Regions from separate parts of the Homo sapiens genome. Here region 2 is linked to region 1. Evidence: promoter capture Hi-C in human tissues and cell types (Jung and others, 2019). All regions are on one chromosome and are shown on one strand. Each heading gives the region's core, a stretch centred on a gene start or on the middle of the fragment in contact. The rest is flanking DNA. Distances are from core to core; before and after follow the strand shown.

Evidence for each region. Contacts are between HindIII fragments. The study calls those that stand out against the background at their distance.
Region 2: a contact is called between a fragment that was not itself captured here and the fragment with the promoter of VRK1 in region 1, in 1 of the 25 tissues and cell types used here (lymphoblastoid cells).

The regions. Positions count from the first base shown.
Region 1 is chr14:96,795,430-96,798,878 of GRCh38, forward strand. VRK1 (VRK serine/threonine kinase 1) reads left to right here and starts at 1,953. Exons shown (of 13, transcript NM_003384.3): 1 at 1,953-2,018. RefSeq lists silencers at 1,835-2,034, 2,045-2,334 and an enhancer at 2,279-2,810. The HindIII fragment of the contact is 7,034 bases long and covers 1-3,449 here.
Region 2 is chr14:97,442,486-97,445,934 of GRCh38, forward strand. No RefSeq gene overlaps it. Among named protein-coding and RNA genes, the nearest start is that of LINC02325, 15 kb to the right of the region's middle. RefSeq lists an enhancer at 1-328. The HindIII fragment of the contact is 5,085 bases long and covers 1-3,449 here.

The DNA of each region.
Region 1 (3,449 bases), core at 703-3,202:
AGTGCTCACCTTGCCCATGCTCTGTTAGGGTCTCAACAGGAAGCAGATGACATAATTCCAAATAGGGTAATTTGAGGAAGGTTATTTGCAATGAGACTATTTACAACGGTGTTGGGGGTAGGAACCACGAGGGAGGATGCAGTAACTTGTGGGTCAGCAGCAGCCGTGATGTCATCACTTCCAGACCTGAGGCACAAAGGGAAGGGCTACTACCGCAAACTGGAGGGAGGGCCAGGGAGCAGTGACCTTCAGCTGAGGGACCTGCCAACTGGAGGTGACCTTGCCAGTCAGGATCCAGGGGCTTAACCTACTCTAACCAACCTTTCTTTTTCCTCCAATCTTCTGTGGGGTTCTCCACTGGGCACGCCCCAAAGCCAGGGGGCACAGGGAGCGCGAAGTAATTTGTAGAGGTCAGCCTCCTGGGGCAGAGGGCAGGCAGGAGAAGTATTTGGAGCAGATGAGGGTATCTGGAGGGGAAAATGTAAGACATCAGGCACAATATTGCCCTGTCTAATGGACAGAGTGATTCCAGGTTTTGTAGGGACTGAAGCTCACATAATTTTGGGGGATCTACTTTAAGAAAAATCAGCTGGGTGTGGTGGCTCATGCCTGTAATTCTAGCACTTTGGGAGGCTGAGGCGGGGTGGATTGTTTGAGCTCAGGAGTTCAAGACCAGCCTGGGCAACATGGTCAAACCCTGTCTCTACAAAAAATACAAAAATTAGCCAGAAGTGGTGGCCTGTGCGTGTAATCCCAGCTACTCGGAGGGTTGAGGTGGGAGGATTGCTTGAGCCCAGGAGGTCGTGGCTGCAGTGAACCGAGATCGCGCCAATGCATTGCAGCCTGGGTGACAAAGTGAGACTATATCTTTAAAAAAAAGAAAAAGAAAAGTAAAATCGACAAATAAACCCCCAAAGCTATGTAAACTCATTGAGGGACCTGCGCAAGTGAGGTCCTGAAGCTTACGCTTCATTGGCTTCATTGTTAATCTCCCTCTGCCTGTGACTTCAGTGATTTTGACCTAGAACAATGACCCAGTGCCCAATAAGCTCTCAGCCTCATGGGTGATGGAGACTTAGCTGATTATAATAAACACAATGCGGCCGGGCGCGGTGGCTCACGCCTGTAATCCCAGCACTTGGCGAGGCCAAGGCGGGCGGATCACAAGGTCAGGAGATCGAGACCATCCTGGCTAACACGGTGAAACCCCGTCTCTACTAAAAACAGAAAAAAATTAGCTGGGCGTGATGGCGAGCGCCTGTAGTCCCAGCTACTCGGGAGGCTGAGGCAGGAGAATGGCGTGAACCCGGGAGACGGAGCTTGCAGTGAGCCGAGACTGTGCCACTGTACTCCAGCCTGGGCGACAGAGTGAGACTCCGTCTCAAAAAAATAAATAAATAAAAATAAATAATAAACACAATGCAAACTGTGGCATACGTTGATTACAGATGAAACACTATAGATGATTAGGTAGACATTGAGATATGCTTTGAAATAGGCTTCGAAAAACAGGTAGGATTTAGACACATATCAATGAGTGGGCAGAATAATACTAACACTATCTGCTATTTATTGAGCACCAACTAAGTTTAAAGTACTGCCTATAGATTATTTCATTTAATCCTAACAGAAACAGGAAACTTATTTTACACCCAACTCTCTGCCAATACACTTAATAAATCAAGCTACTACGAACAAGGCTGTAAACCACATTTCCTAGAAGACCAGGGAGCAGAAGGACGGGGATCTCCCTTTGCCGCTAAGAGACTCCAACTCCCAGGATGCCTTGGGAGCGCTGGACCACAGCTCCCGGCATTCCCGGGGAGGCGCGGGGCTAGCGTAGCCTCCGCCCCGCGCCTCGCGTTACCACTCGTCCCGCCCCTCCTCGTCGCCTCCGAGCCAATGGGAAGGCTCCATACTGCAGGGTGCGAAGGGGCCGGCGCCGCTGCCGAGTTACGAGTCGGCGAAAGCGGCGGGAAGTTCGTACTGGGCAGAACGCGACGGGTCTGCGGCTTAGGGTAGGGAGGCCGCAGGCGACACGGCTCGAGGACTCGCGCGCCGAGCCGGGGGCGCGGAGGCGGGCGGCCGGGGCTGGGGCCGGCACTGGGCCTTCCGGGCGGCCTGTGGGTCCACCGGGGTGCGGGAGTCGCCGTCAGCCTCGGTCGCCCCGCGGGACCGCGCTCCGCCGCGTGGCTTCCGCCTGCGCGGGCGTCCGCTCCTTCCTTGTCTCGTTCAGGCCCCGCAGGCGCCCCCGGGGATGCCTGGACTGGCCAGGCCGGCCCCCATCTGAGCTCCACGTTCTGGACGCGCGTGGTGTCGCGGCCGAGCTCGCAAACGCCGCCTCGGGCCTCACCGGGAAGCCGGTTCTGTCAGGCGGGGCTCCGGGTGAACAGCGCAGGCGAGGCCCCTGCCCCGCAGAGCTCACTCTGTAGAAGGGAAACAACACACGCAGCTGCGATGTTTTGCGGATACGGAAATGCTTTCTTAGAAACGGGACAGGCAGTTGCGGGCTAGAGGAATGGGGGCGAGGCTCTTTAGGTTAGGTGATCCGGGAGGGCATCTCAGAGGATGTGACCTTTGACTTGAGACCTGAGAGGGGAGGCCGACCCCTGAGGATAGCAGCCAGGCCTGGGGACCGCGAGGCCGCCCGTTATTTCCCTGTCACATCGCGGGGAGGCCCCGTGATCCTGTACTTGAGGGTCTGTCTGGTGCAAGGCAGTTAGAGCCGCTTGTGTGTTTTGCAAGGGACTTTCATAACCGTTTGACAGTTCCTCCTCATTCTGTCCTTACCTGGCAGGGTGGCATCCTTTACTGTTGCAGCTCCATTCAGGGGCAACGCATAGTTTTTCCTACCACCGAAATAGTATTGTGGTTCTCGTCTCAAAACTCTTAGGTGGTAGAATTAAATTCGACAGACAGCAGCAGAGTCAGACACTATAGGTTCCTGTTGAGGCCACCCATTTTTCTGATGTCCTTTCTTTCAAGTCACTCATTTTTGTTTTCCTTTGTATAGACTCTTCCCTTCCCTTTCCTGTGTCCCTTTCTTGGAACAACTTGGAAATACAATTTGCTATTGGGAGGATGTTGGTTTTAGGGAACTGTTGAAGAACTTCATTAATTATTGTGTGTGTGTTTTTCTTTTCTTCTTCTTTTTTTTTAAACTGGAATTGCCCATCTGTTGAGACTGAAATTCAAGAGTAAAAAAAAGTAGGGCAGCATTTATTTTCAAGAGTTGACAATAAAGGCACCTTTCTTTATGACATGCTGAGCATGATACTTTGGGGGAGAATTTAATCTAGAATTTTGAAGCATTTTCAGAAGGAAGCAAGGGTTCTTTATATAGTCATTTTATGTAGGTTACGTTTATGTTCTTCAAAATGGCATGTAGTGATTGGAATTAAATTTCTGGGTAGATAAGATTATGTTCATCTGTTACCTATAGAAGGGAA
Region 2 (3,449 bases), core at 671-3,170, 650 kb after region 1:
CATTTGATTTATTTTACAGAAAGCCAATGCTGGAAAACTCTGTAGTGGTGGGTGGTATTGTTTGACACCTTCCTTTTCAGGGGAAGAAGCTGAGACCCAAAGGGGCAACTTGAGCCACCTGAGGTCACTCTGTGGATAAGCAACAGCTCTCAGAGGTTTGCGTGAGACAGGCCGGAACTACTTCTCTCTGCCCTCCCAGGATCTTTGCATGACATGATATGAAACCAAGATTCTCAACAACCAAGATTCTTCTGTGGGGCCCAGCAGAAGTATCTGAGGAATCTTTTCAAAAATCTGCATGAACTTGCTAAGGCTGCCATTAACAAGTTCCACTTTTCTGGGTGGCTTAAACAACAGAAATGTATTTCCACACAGTCGTGGAGGCTGGAAGTCCAAGGTCCAGGCATCCACAGGTTTGGTCTCTTCTGAGGCCTCTCTCTGTAGCTTGTAGATGGCCGCCTTCTCCTTGTGTCTTCCCACAGTTATCCCTCTTTCTGTATCTGTGTCCTGATCTCTTCTTATAAGGACACCAGTCATATTGGATTGGTGGACTCATTTTTAACTTAATTACCCTTTTACAAATTCGATCTCTAAATACAGCCACATTCTGAGGTACTGGGAGGACTTGTTCTATTTGAATTTTTTTTTTTTTTTTTTTTTTTTTTTTGTGGAGGGACACAATTTGCTCATAATAATGTGTCCCCTGGCCCTTCAAAACTCATGTCCTTTCTGCGTGCAAAATACACTGACTCCATTTCAACGTGTTCAAAAGTGTTAACTGATTCCAGCATCAACTCTAAGTCCAAAAGCTCACCTAAATAGCATCTAAATCAGATGTGGGTGAAACTCAAGGTATGATTTATTCAGAGGCAAAATTCCTCTTCAGCTGTAAACTTATAGAACCAGACAAGTTCTCTGCTTTCAAAATACAATGGTGGGGCAGGCATAGCATAGATATCCTATGGGAGAAATCAGAAAGAAGACAGGAGCCACAGGTCCCAAGCAAATTCCATTAGATCTTAAGGCTCAAGAATAACCCTCTTTGACTTCATAATCTATGGACCACCTGGTCCCTCCCTAGCAGCTTCTGTGGTGGTTTCTCGTCATCTCCCACCATTGTCCCAGCAAATAAATACTATGACCCAACAACTCACCATGTGCCAGAAACATTTCCTGTATGTCAGTCAACTCATTACATTCTCACCAGGGCCCTAAGAAAGAAGCCCAGTGATCAATTCCATTTGACCAAGGAAGAAAGTAAGACATAGAGAGGTCAAGTTCTTCGGCCAGGGCCACGTAGCTTATTAATGGAGTTGCTGGGACTTGAACCCAGCCAGTCTGACCCCAGGGCCTTTTCTTATACCGAGACCTTGGCATTCCAGGTGAGGCTCCTGCTCACCAGTGTTAGACAATCTCTGACCTGTTGTGTCAGCTCCAAGTGTTTACTGGTGTAAATGTTTCTTCTCCTCATCCCCAGAAGGAGTTAAATGAGACAGAAGTCCTCCTCGTAATCCTCTCGGTGCTCCTGTAGCTGGGACAATGTGTGATGCACAGAACACTTATAAGTGTCTGTTAGTGATGAGTGAATTGGGGGAGGCTGTGGTCCTTCCCTGAAAAGGTGAACCAATTAAAACTCAAAATCACCTTAGCAAGATACCAAAGAGCAGAATTTCAGTGGTCCCAGCCCCTCTGGAAGCCCCTGGAAGCTTATTTTCATTCTGAATAGACCTCCTTTGCTTTGCCTCACAGAGAGTGCTTCCATTCAACCAGTAATTAGTGTCTCTAAGTGGAATCTACTTAAGAAAGGACACAAAGCCTGAGAAAGTTGTATTATGCCATTTATAAATGTCCGGTGATCTGCTGCTGCACTGTGATTCACGGAGCTGAAATAAATGATTTGCTTCAAAAAAAAATTATGAACGTTCATTCCGCTGGTAGAATCTCTTAATTCCCGTTACACATGTCAGCATATTATGACTGGAAGCTGTCAGGTTCTAATGACTAAAATTTCATTTTTCAGACTTCTCACACTGTGTGTGAGGACTATAAGTTAGAAATATCTCTGCAGCTAAGTTTCTTCCTCATCTGGTAAATTTAGCTCTTTCTTTCTTTTCTATTTATTTTTTAAGTGTCCATGTTTACATGAATACCTTGAGTAAACTAATCTCATGCTTCATTCAATAAACGAGGAGGTCTACTACTATGGTGCTTTTCTTCCCAAAGCTGCTGTCCTTTTTATGGGACATAATGTGTCTTGACAGCTGACAGATTCAATGCAAAATTATTTTTACTTGGCAGAGTGGATCAAAATATGGATTATTTTAAAGAACATTAGCACTTTTTTGTTTAAAGTAAAATATATTGTTTATGCTTTGTATGGATAAACAACCTTGACATTGGCTGTAACTTGTTTTATTATCCTTGAAATGGAAATTTGTTGACACGATATTCAATAAATAGAAATACTTCGGTCCTGTTCACTTAACTCGCATACTATACTAAATAGGAATTATTGATCCTCCAGTTATTACACTTGTTCCTGAAATGCTCTGTGGAGGGCAGGAAAACCAACTTCCAATTCAGGTTGTTAATAGATTGGTCGCAAAATTTATGTTATCCATGTCCAACAAATCACTAATAAAAGCTTATAAGAGGCTAGATCATCTGCATTGAATTACTCATTCTTCCCCCCATAAAAAGCCTTTAGCTAGAGACTGACCAAAGAATTTAAAATCTCTCATTATCTATAAGTCATTGCTCAAAGTGTCCCTAAATGGGATTAAAGCATCGCTGCTCAGATTTCCTACAATGACTGCCCTCTTCTACTTCCACCTTGACTTAAATTAAAGGCTAATGATATGTTTCCAGAGGAAAGAAAGAGATAGCTTTTCCTTGAACGACTTTCCAGGACTCCAGCATCTAATCTGTTACGGAATAGCTGCTATGCCATGGTGGCCGACTGCATCTGTTTTTCTGGGAATATGGTCCAGGTCTAAGTGGGTCTGGTGACCACGTTGTCATCTCCATACAGCTGGTCAACTCAGTGCAGGAGGAAACGGGACGTAAGCACCGTGCACCATCCAGGGGCTGTTCTCTACCTTTGTTTACTGCCACTGCAAGGATGTGTGCTTCAGGTGCTGCTTTGAATACTCAGGGGCAGTCAATGCAAATGTTCCCTCCACTCAGTCTCCTTCCCTCCCACCCTCCTTTCTTTTTCTTTTTTTCTTTCTTTCTATCCATAAGCATTTATGGAGCACCAACCATGCACCAAACTCAGTACCAGGCACTGGGACCCCCAGACGGATCGGGCTTCCTGGTGCTCAAGCAGGTCTTGGTCTCCTGGGGGCTCAGACCAGCCCATGTACTCAGACATTTGTGTGGCATGACAGTGTGGGTGGTGGCAGGATGCCCAGTGGGAAAGGCCCAGGCCAGGCATGCTGCTGGCCTGC